2 separate regions of the Homo sapiens genome follow, and region 1 is linked to region 2. Evidence: promoter capture Hi-C in 16 types of primary human blood cells and fetal thymus (Javierre and others, 2016). All regions are on one chromosome and are shown on one strand. The core of a region is centred on a gene start or on the middle of the fragment in contact, and the rest is flanking DNA. Distances in the headings are between cores, read along the strand shown. Region 1 overlaps RIMS2 (regulating synaptic membrane exocytosis 2). Region 2 holds the start of DPYS (dihydropyrimidinase).

Region 1 (5,704 bases), core at 2,959-5,458, 650 kb after region 2:
AAAATACTTAAAAACTGTAGATAAGTATCATTTAAATGTGCTTTTAAAAATGATGTGGCATTATAAAATTAAACATACACCCACGCTATGATCCACAAATTTCTCTTTTAGTTATTTACCTAAAAGAAATAAAAATATATGGCCACAAAAAGACTTACGTGAAAGTATGGTATATTCATATTCATAAAAAGAAATATTATTCAGCAATGAACAGGAAAAAACTACTCACACATGCCACAATATGGATGAATGTTTTAAAACTATGTTGAGTAGGCCGGGAGCAGTGGCTCATGTCTGTAATCCCTGCACTTTGGAAGGTGAGGCAGGTGGATCGCCTGAGCTCAGGAGCTTGAGACCAGCCTGGACAACATGGCGAAACCCCATCTCTAACAAAAAAAAAAAAAAAAAATTAGCTAGCCATTGTGGCACATGCCTGTGGTCCTAGCTTCTCAGAAGGCTGAAGTGGGAGGATCACTTGAGCTTGGGGGAGGTTGTAATGAGCCGAGATCACGCCACTGCACTCCAGCCTGGGTGACAGAGAGAGACAACATCAAAAAATAAAAATAAAAACAAACAAATAAATAAAATTATGCTGAGTAAAATGCCTTATCAAAAAAAGATTACCTTCTATAAAATTTCATTATGTGAAGTTTTAGAACAAGCAAAACTAATCTACACTAGGTGGGGAAGCAGTACAACAGTTGGTTCTGGAGGCTGAGGGGAGTGGGTATTGACTGGGAAGGAGTGTGAAGAATATAACTGTGGGAATTCAGAGATTAATAAATATGTAGCCCCTAATTCAAGGAGCTCATAGGACAGCAACTTTACCAGTAACACATAGCCAGTAAGCAGCAGACCCTAGATATGAGCACGACTTCTATGTTCAATACTACCCAACATAAAGCTACAATGTGTAGCAGAAAAGTCAGGCACAAATAAATCCTTACTTAAATGCAGCAGTTTTCCTTATCATTTTCCATTAACTCTACGTCTCACATTTCAAAGGACTTATGATGAAATGAAAAGTTTAAAGCCATATGAGTAACCGTAAGTCCTGAGTTTAAGTAAGCAGCTGGACGTTAGTTTGTTCAAGAGTAAAATGACAGCAGTAGAATAAAAAAGTCTCCAAATGTGTTTCTTAGAACCAAACATGGGTCCCATGTCCCACTTTCTATACCAGAGCTGCTCTACTTCTATCTGCTTTGCATATTGAGTTAGACCTTGAAAGCGTTCTCTGCCCAAAACAGAAAGCATAGTTTAAAACACACTAGGCAAAATAAAGAGCCCTCATATTTTAAGATACTATAATTTTTAACGTGCAATGGGTTTTTCCATTTTTCCCTATAAGAAATGTTCACACATTTTTCTAAAATACTTACAATTTCTCAAATTTGAAAGCAAAACTAAAATTGTGGATGAGTCCTAGGAATTCTTTTGTTGGGGCCATGAATTTTTTGTGAGTAATTCATACATGGATAGGAAGAAAGCCTATAGCCCATATGAAATGAATTCATTTTACTATTTAGTGAGTAGTGCCAGAATTAAAGAAGTTTACTAGTAATTATTTTCAACTTTTAAAATCCTTTATGATCATACAGAAGTTGATAATTTAAAACTATAGTTAACATTTACCTGTCAGTCATCACCAAAAGCAGAAGCTTTATAAAACTTCTTTCAATAAAGAAAATGCTTAAAGACTGTAGATCAGTGTCAGATTAAGGACATATACTAATAATTGTAGTATATTGCTAAGGTCCACAGTAAATATTCTAGTGAAAATACTAATGACACACATATCTAAATCAAAAGCCATTTTGATTAGAAATCTAAATAGATAATTAATTGTGTTATAAGCTTTTATGCCTATAATGAATAATGTTATAGTTATAAAAATATTTTATAATAACAATTATGCATGTTCAATAAAGTATATATATATGTACATAAAATGTGTATATTAGATGATTGGATGCTTTATACCTCATAACACAGACTTTTCATGCAATATGAAAAATCAACTGTGCTGGAATCATACCAAGTCCAAACAATGCACACTGTGTAGATTGCACCCTGAGAACTATGAAAAGTAAGCATGCTGTTCTTTCAATGTCAAAGTAGTCATTAACGTACCATGATGAAGAATCATTATCTGTGCCAAAATTCCTGAACACAAATTACTGGTTTGATTACAAACCAAAGCAATAATAAATGCTACAGGAAAAACTAAGAATTTCTGACCAAAAATAATACTAAATAAACATTTATTTAGCAAGTCAGATTTTACTTAAAATATTAATGTTTTAGAACAGTGGCAATGTTTCAAAGGAAAAGAATCCGCTTAAACTAAGTGAATTTAAGCTTTACATTTCACTTTTATAATTAGAGTAGCCCTGTAATTTATTTTCAAATCACAACACTTTTTAGAGAGAATAGTACTAATAATAATCACTGGATGACTGCAGGCATAAACTGGGAGTACTCCAGACAAAGTGGATCGTATGGTTATCTTACTTGCAATTGAAAAAAAATCCAAATATTCTTCTGTCTACTAATATTTTTTCTTTTCTTACTTTTAAATATGAAAGTCTACATATCTCATTGTACGTATACGGAGAGAAAGACTGTTTTTAATATCTACTCTAAATAAATTCCAGTTTTATTATGCCTCTGTGTGGCCAGAAGTCACAGCAAATTCACTGTCACACATTCAGTGGCAAAAAAATAATTTCATCTAGAGGAAAATACAGATCTCTTCGTTGTATAAAAAAGACGGCTAAAAATTAGCAAATGGAAAAACTCAGAGGATCAATTTTATCACAAAAGATAGCCATCATTAGCATGTTTATTTGAATATTGCCCAAAGCAACTGATAACTCAATGCAGTGAACAATGCTAAAAAATATATCTTCTAGCGTCTCAATATTTATGTTTGCTTCCAAAGACAAGCTCACAAAAATTAGATTTCATATTGAACTCAGTACTTGATTTTTTTACTAATGACAAAAGCATTTATCTTTGTGTCCTGATTAAATAATTTCACTTGAGAGAGAGTTTACAATGAGAAAACTTGATAACAAAAAATTAAACTAAAGTGGCATTTCATCAAAACCTATCAAGTGAGTCAAGTGAGTTTATGCAGGATGCAGACACATGTTTTCTTTTTGCTAGACGTCCAGTTGTTTCATTTTAGCTGTAAAAGAACAGAGAATCCTGCTTCATGCACTAAAATGGTACTCAAGAACCATACAATAAGAGAATAAGCTAAACACTTTCAGTATGAAAATAAGGTTTGTGCTATATGGTTTCCAACAAAAAGTTAGTCTAAAATATTTTAATAATTATTACTCATAGATAAATTTCATTTAATCATTAGTTAATTAATTCACTTAAGAATCTATATTAATCTCCACTTTGGGGACTTATGACACATACAGTATTATTGGTTGGTTTAAAAATCTTTCCTCCTTTAACAAGTTGAACTTGGAAATGTTTCTGGAGCAGTTGTTATGGAAGATTTTCATCATTTAATGTTTTATTGCTAATATGTCATAGAAGTCAACTGCCTCACCATCTAAAATCCTAATGAAAGTTGAGTTGCAGATTTGGGGATAAGATTAGCTACCGAACAAAAGTCTTAGTTTAAAAACTACTTGAAAAGGCCCCCTTTTAATAATACATTGTCTACAAATGATGCATAGTACTATTCTAGTAATCCCTACTAGAAAGCAATTCAGAATAAAATATCTAATTGTCCAAATTGATGGCTTTTTTCTATCAATTTAAAGATCATTGTTAATGTCACAATACAAATATTGAATATTCCATGTCAACTAGTCCAAACAATTAAATGATTACTATTCATGTACTAATAACCAAAACTGTTCTTTCCAGAGGTGATAGTTATATAATTGATGCTTAAGAAGATCACAGATGTCTAATTGAAAGGTCCATTATTCAGAAAAAAAATCTAAATTCTTGCATATGAGATCTTTTGATGACATATTCAGGCCATTCTTCTTCCATGATTTTTTTCTTCAAGAATAATTTTTTAGTCTATACTAAAGTGGAAAGTCTTTACTTTCCACTTTAGTGTTAATTAAAATGTTAATACCTATGCAGGATGCATAGGCATTTATATTGTTTAAAAGAATATAAGCAGAATAAAAGGTTTAAAAGACCCTTGTATCTAAAGTGAACACAAAAAATAACCAAAAAATTAAAATATGTGGAAGCATAAAATTCATATACTTATTTTTTCACTCATCATACTTCTAAAACAATAACTATTTGCAGAACTTTTTGATTGACCTTAAAAGTAAATCAAGTAGCTGATGGGACATTTATGAAGATGCATAGATGTATTTGTGGTATAAGGGCAAATGATTTTTAAAGACTAATAAGAACATATAAAGGCCGAGATTTTTTTCCCCTAAAGCAAGATAAATTACTTATCGAGTAATTGGTAGTTTGGGATAGTTTTAGATAATAATCAATATAAGTTAAACCATACTGGTCGTATAGAAGCATTAAAAACTTCATAATCTTATGTTTAAGAGCAGCAGCATAAAAGTCCAGATTTTAATGAGAGCTTTAAAGGCTCTTACTGAAATTATAGGCATGCCAACAATAAAAGAAACTTGAAGCCAAAGCAAGTACACAGTGATAGGGATGCACACAATTCCCTCAAAAAATAGTTATTTTCAGATTTTTAAATTAATACTTTAAAACCAATTCCTTACTATGCTGTTAATAGCATAATTTCTATACCTAAACCCTAATATTAATACATTTACACACAAATTCTTGGCATTAAAAAAAAAGATGGAACTAAAACAAGGAAAAGGTTTATAAAGGATGAGTACAAATCCTAAAACTCTGGTAGCTTCAGGTCATGGAAATTTTTAGAAAGCAATACTTGCTTTTTAATTTAAATATAACATAAAATATATATTTTTATGATAAATTATAGACACTAAAGTGATGTATCACTTTAAAAAAGGAAAACAGCATCTTAAAATACAGATATCCAATTTAGAATATCCTAACATTTCATATACTGTTTGATGTTTTTAATTTGTCTCAAGATAAAATATAAACAAAATCCAATTAGTTTATTGAACAGAACTGGATTGAGGAAAGAAAGTGAAATTTTATAAGAAATAGATATGTTATCCCATTTTCAAAGTAAAGGTTATAAATATATTTATCATCAGTAAACATTTTAAATGCCAACAAATTTTAAAAGCCTTTTTTTCATTTGCTAAATTAAAATACATATTGTATAACCGGTATTTTTTTAATCTCCAAAATAGGATGCCTCACATTGTTCAGAGATACTAAGAAGAAGAGACAAGTAAAACCACTCAATATTTTATGCACTATTAGTTCCCCATCGGTTTCCAGAAGGTTTCAGTGCATTGCCATGTTCACAGAATTTCTTTCTCAGTCTTCTCCACATATATTTAGTTAAATGGGGTCTTTTTTTTACTAAGCATGTAACATGAGAAATTCTCAAAAGCCAAACAACTTAAATGAGGAAAGAACTGGATGATAAAACTGCATTCCAAAAACATTCTTTAATAGAATATCTTTTAGTGTAAGCCAGAGAAACCATCTGAGAGATATGTTCATAATTTAACAGCCTTCACCATAGAAAAATGATCAGGTTGAAAAAGCAATAGGAATTTATAACAAAGAATCCTGC
Region 2 (6,176 bases), core at 3,215-5,714:
CAGTGGAAGGACCAGGAATAACATATTTCTGAATCTAGAAGGCAAGTTTTACTTGGTTCCCAATTCACTCATCTGAATCTGGGAAGAGTGTAATTCTAGGACTACACCAGGAACTCTCCATTCAGAGAATCATAAAATTATAAAAGTGGGAAGGGTGGGTCTCACAAGCTTTTGCCAACCTAGCTGTGGAGGAGGCGGAGACCCTGAGCATTAAGTGACTTGCCCAAGCTCTCAGCAGAAGCTGGCATCAGATTACTATTAGATAAGATTACTATTTCCTCATTCAATTTTCTCCCACCCTTTCCATGCCATCTACCTTTCCCAACTTTCATCATTGATTCAAGTATAAATACATTACCCTGCCAGGGAATTCTATCCCTCAGTGGTCCAGGGAACAGGAGTTTCCACAGATGCTGGTGCACGTGCACTGCTTTGAGACGCCCAACTCTCCTTGCTCAGTCTCACTCACCCACCCTCACCATTCCTTCCCTGTGCCCCAGAGAACTCTTCCATTGGGTGGAAACAACAGCTTAAAAACCTCTCCTAGCCCACAGGAGCCTCTAGTAGGAGTGGAGAGGGTCAGGAGCAAAGGGAAAGCAAACTTGGCTCCTCCAGGATAGCCGAAGACTGAAATACAACTGACCCTGGTGGACTTGTTTCTCAAAATCTCAACCACTCAGTGAAGGAAGTCACCTGCTTGCTCCTCCAGGCTTTCTCTCCCTGTAGACCATCAAGCAGGGATGGGAGGCTCTTCTTGCCAAATCACCCTCACCTACACTTCCAGATAGATGTGTTTTCATGGGTTAAGCACTGACAATCTTTGTAACCATCCTGTAAAATGCTTCTTTAAAACTATTCCTCTGAGGGGTAATATGTTCTCAGACATCCTTGATATTTTCATCAATACAACTGACTCTCTCCCCAGCAAGAAGAATGAAGAACAGCAGGAGCTCTGCATCCCACCTTTCTCCCAATGACAACATTGTGTCCCCTGATTCTTGTTTACTGCCCACGGAGGGCCTGGAGTGTCTGGGTAAGGAGGAGGCTGTGTAGGACAAAGAAAATGAAGGTGAGTGTGTGCTGAGAACAAGCTTTCCCCACTGAGCCGGTTTGTCCAGGCTCAGCCACCTGCCCTGCAAGCTAGTGTGCGGGAATGATGGCCAGAAAGGGGCAAAGCCCCTTCTGTTCTGTGAGCTAACATTTATCCCTAAAACTACCCCCCTCTCTCTTTTATTGCTGTCAGTTAATCTCAATGAGCCATTTCCTCCCACCTCGGTGACATTCTACAAGTCCCCTTTTCTGATAAAAGTTTGAGTTAATTAAATGTGGGAAGTTTGTTTTGTGTTGTGTTACAGGGCATTTCACGACGTAAACTGTGTAAGATAAAAGAAACCTTTGAAATCATTAATCTGGACAATTTCAGAAAGGATGGCACAGCTGCACTGACATCCAATCTTATTTTCCTAAGGTGGTGCTTACTTGTACAGCTTGTAGAAATTTCATTATGTTTATAATTACCCCTTTCACCCTTACACAAAAGTCCCTTGACAATAATTGCATAACCTCCTTGGGTTTCTTGTTCCTGGCTTGACAGCCAAATCTACGGAACTTTAAATTATTGATGCTTTCTAATTTTTAATTATTTTGAGGTTTGTGTAAGCTGAAGCTTTAGGAGATTTGGCAATAATAATACCTCACATTCCACTATTGAAAATGCCATCTCTGAGGTCACATGTGGCCACCTTGTCTCGAAACATGAAGAAGGTATCTTCCCAGTGTCTGTCAGTGGACCCTGCAAGTGACAAAAGACTCAAATCAGCTTAAGCCAAAAGTGGGAAGTCTAGGGGAGGGGCCTTTAGGCATGGTGGGATTCAGGAACTCAGTGTCATGAGAACCCAGCCTCTCTCCGTCTCTCCTTCCTGTTCTTGGTGTTGGCTCTGTTCACAGAAGGGCTATTTCTCTGTGTTGTCTAGAAGGCTCCCAGAAGCCCCTTGTTTACACTCCCTAGAATTCAAGTCCAAGAGGAAAGAACAAGCCTCTTATCTGCTCAACCTAAAAATAAGAAGTCTTGGGATCTGCACTCACTTCTTGGGCATGAGAAGTTTGGAGCATGTGCCCATCCCTGTATCATCACTGTGGTTTGAGGATTCCCTGCCTTGATTGGAAGAGTCTAGGTGAGAGCTCAGTTGCAGAGCTAGAGGTCCCATTGTTACAGGCAGGTCTTTGTTCTTAGTGCTCTCAAGATGGTGGTGAGCCGCTCCCAAGATGGCGGCAAGCCTTTTGTTCTCTGACCTGGGGTTCTTGGCCTCATGGATTCCATGGAATGGAACCTTGGGTCATGCAGTGAGTGTTATTGTTCTATTAGAAAACGTGGGTCAAGGAAGAGAACCACGGAACCCAGCGACTAGTGTTCAGTTAGATTAGGACAAACCCGGGCACTTAGCCATGCAGGAACAATGGCGAGCCTCTAGCCTGAACTGGAGCGGCAATGGGCGCCTCGCTGGATCAGGAGCGCAGCGGACTCCCTGCTGGATTCAGAGGGGTGGAAGTCAGCGGCGGGTCTGTGACGGCAGCAAACAGCAGTGGTGGATGGTGAGCAAAAGCTCAGCTCAAGCCGTAACAAACACAGACCAGAAGAGTGTGCAGCTGCAAAATTTAATAGAGTGAAAACAGAGCTCCCATACAATGGGAGAGGACCCAAAGGGGGTTGCCGCTCCCTGCTGGAATGCTTGGGTTTATATCCTGATCATTGTCCCTCCTCCTGTGCTCTCAGGTGATATATGATTTGACTATTTCTTTACCTCCTGCTTTTAACCTAATTTGTATTTTAGTGAGCCCTCTTTACTACCTGACTGGTAGGGTGTGAGCTGAGATGCAAGCCCCATGTTTAAAGGTAGGTGTAGTCACCTTCCCCAGCTAGGCTTAGGAATTCTTAGTCAGCCTAGGAAATCCAGCTAGTCCTGTCTCTCACCATCAGTTTCTCCAAAACAAGTGTTCTGAGACTTCAGGCAGAGGATTTCCCACCAAAGAAATGCCAGTGACTGTTACCAGAATAAGGACAAGAATATATGCCTGGTCAGCAGATGTCCACCCCACCTCCCCATGACCCTTCATAACCCTTTTGCAAGATTCCATCCTGTTGCCCTTCTTAAAATTCTGCATTCCTGCCTTCCATCACACAGACCTGTGGTCTCCCTTCTCTCTGACCACTCTGTCTCTTCTTCCTCCTCCTCCCCTATAAGCAAAGGGATGGTCCAGGATTCAGTGTAAGCCTATCCCTCATAGCTTAACCACAGGGAGTGCATTCCTTCATCCTCTCTGTGCCTTTACACGCTCTGTTCACTCTACCTGGAGCACTATGTCCTCTTCCCACCACTCACCTCTGCGTGTTCACATTCTCTGTATCCTAGTTCAAATACCTCTTCACAAATCTTCCATATCTGATGTCTTTAAGCCAGAAATAAACTCACTCTTTCCTCTAAATTCTTATCTTTATCCCTTCTCAAAGATAGAATGTTCTGTTTTATATATTGAAATATGAATGTGTGTCACTGTTGGCTGTTAGCTACTTGAGGGTGGAAATGTGGTTTATCTTTCCCACTTAGCCCTCTAGCCAATCCCCCTAGTCAGGTAAGCTTTGTAGTCCTTACAAAGCCAGTATTTAAGTGAATTTGCATGGTGCTTCCCACTTTATTAGGGTGTATTCACAGCCATGATCATATTTGCTTCTCAAAGCAAATATGGAAGGCAAGAACAAGTATTAATCAATTTTATATATGAGAAAACTGAGGAACCAAGAGAATAAAAGATTTAACTGAAGATCTCTAAACTGGTTTTGTGGAAAAGCTGGGAGTAGAAATTTAAATCTTTAGAGTTACAGTACCGGTTATTTTCCAAGAAACACTTGCTGGTATGTGTTGTATCATTAAACTGTGGAGAATAGTTGACACCAAGTCGTTTTCTTTCAAATACATTAAATATTTTACTCTGATCCTTCCCTGTGTCTGCCAATTACTGGGATTATATGATAATTTGCTCCTCGCTTAAGAACATTTAACAGGAAACCCAGATCGAGTGGCTCTGTTCTGGCTTGGGTGGGTTTGGGTATTTTTGTTGCTGCTTCTAGTGATGGTTCTTGCTTTCTTTCTCCCTCTGGATCTGTCTTTTGGTACAAACACACCCCCAACCAAGGGAAAGGGTGAGGTGGATTTCTTTCCCTTTAGCACCTAATCTTATGATGAAAAACGCAGGTTCCTTTCTCTTAAAATTCCAAGATCTTTCCCTTCCAATGACTCCGAAGCCTGGGTGGATACCTCAACTCAGGGCGCAGAACACTTGGGGTCTGAGTGTGCAAGGACCATGCGGACCTGTTCAATCCCGGCCTTTGGGCTCCAGCCCAGCCTTCCCGGGGGGAGGAGCCGCATATGCGGCCAGGTCATAAACCCGTCAGGCCGCCGGGCTCCGGATTTGCAGCCTGAGGCAGAGCTCGGGGGCTGTCGGTGGGGACCTTGCAGGAGGGCACCCCAAGCCCGCCCGGCCCGCCCAACCCAGCCCCTGCGCGCAGCCCGGGCCGAGTAGGACCCCGCGCGCCCCTCGCTATGGCGGCGCCCTCGCGGCTCCTGATCCGCGGGGGTCGCGTGGTCAACGATGACTTCTCGGAGGTGGCCGACGTGCTGGTGGAGGACGGCGTGGTGCGGGCACTCGGGCACGACCTGCTGCCTCCCGGGGGCGCTCCTGCGGGGCTGCGGGTCCTCGACGCCGCCGGCAAGCTCGTCCTGCCCGGAGGCATCGACACACACACGCACATGCAGTTCCCCTTCATGGGCTCGCGGTCCATCGACGACTTCCACCAGGGCACCAAGGTACCCGCCCCGCCGCGCCCCCGCCCCGCGGTACCCACGGAGGCTCGGGCAGCCTCCCCAGTCGTCCCGGGGTCCTCAGCAGGGCCGCCTCGCGCGGCGCGGCGCCGAGGAGCTGGGTGGGCGGGAAGGAGCGCAGCCCCGGCGGGTGTCAGAGGGGACTCAGATTCTCTTCGCTGGGGTCCCTTTCAGGCGCCCCTTCTCGGCGGCAGCCGAGCAGCCTTGGCTCAACCAGATGCCCTCGACTCCTCCTTTAGTGGTTAATTTGACGAGTTTAAGGCCATCCCCTTACCCTAATTTCTCTATACCGCTTACTCCCCAAATCTCCCCGCAACCCCATTTTGATTGGTGTTCTGTGGAAGTCGCAAATCTTCCATACATTCTTTAGAATCTTTTTTTAAAGTAGGCACTTCCAGCCATTTCTCCCAACCATTTCGACCCATCCTTTATCCCCAACCAAAACCAAATGAAAAATCCATTCACCTGGTAGTTACAGCCTTGACTCAAAGTGAGCAGTGTAGCAGGTAATGTGTCTGAGTAGGCTAGATGCCCACCGTGTTCACGTTCCCGTCCCCTACCCTCTGCCCCCACTCCCACCCCCAGTAGAAAAAATATAGCCCCGACCAGGGTTTAGAAGAGAAAGTATTCCAGAAATGATCTCGCAACACTCACACACACCAACGCAGCCTCGCAGCAGGCTCTTTTCTCCATCCCACTTGCGCTGGGGACACAACATTCTTGCTGCTGGAGTACCCATAGTTTTACTGATGTTGCAGGAGGGTAATCAGATCACCACTCCCCAGGTGAAGGTAGGCTTGGGTTTCTCTAGATACAAAGGCCTAGAAGTTTGGGTCAATGAAAGGAAACTTAAACCAAACTTGTCCAACCTGTAGGCCGCATGCAGCCCAGGACAGCTTTGAATGCGGCCCAACACAAATTCATAAACTTTCTTAAAACATTATGAGATTTTTTTTCTTAGTTCATTGGCTGTCGTTAGTGTTAGTATATTTCATGTGTGGCCCAAGACAAGAGAAGCCAAAGATTGGACACCCCTGCAACATTTCCCCAAAGCTCCTCAACACAAGATCAAGAGACTAACAGAGCAGCTTTACAGGAACATAGAGTAAAAATTCTACTCTCAGCACTTGGGCTAAAGTAAAGCCCACATCCTCCCTAAGTCCTGTGTTTTGAGCTGCCTTGAGAGAAATGGCTCCTTCCAAAGTGAAGATGTATTGATATACTAAAGGCCTTGGCTTTTCACTTGGACCATACCTTGATGTGTGAAACAAGTTGGGCTATTAAGTCCAGTGTATAGTA

What was found. Contacts are between HindIII fragments. The CHiCAGO score rates a contact against its expected background, and 5 or more counts as called.
Region 1: a contact is called between a fragment that was not itself captured here and the fragment with the promoter of DPYS in region 2, in 1 of 17 cell types (monocytes). The highest score is 8.5, in monocytes.

Annotation. Positions count from the first base shown.
Region 1 is chr8:103,820,152-103,825,855 of GRCh38, reverse strand. The region is part of intron 6 of RIMS2 (regulating synaptic membrane exocytosis 2); the gene reads right to left. Among named protein-coding and RNA genes, the nearest start is that of RIMS2, 320 kb to the right of the region's middle. The HindIII fragment of the contact is 3,695 bases long and covers 2,361-5,704 here.
Region 2 is chr8:104,465,343-104,471,518 of GRCh38, reverse strand. It overlaps DPYS (dihydropyrimidinase), which reads left to right and starts at 4,464. Exons shown (of 10, transcript NM_001385.3): 1 at 4,464-4,862. The coding sequence starts at 4,599. It overlaps LOC105375691 (a long non-coding RNA gene), which reads right to left and starts at 5,749. Exons shown (of 3, transcript XR_928507.3): 1 at 5,532-5,749; 2 at 1,694-1,792. RefSeq lists an enhancer at 1,511-2,710. The HindIII fragment of the contact is 2,857 bases long and covers 3,638-6,176 here.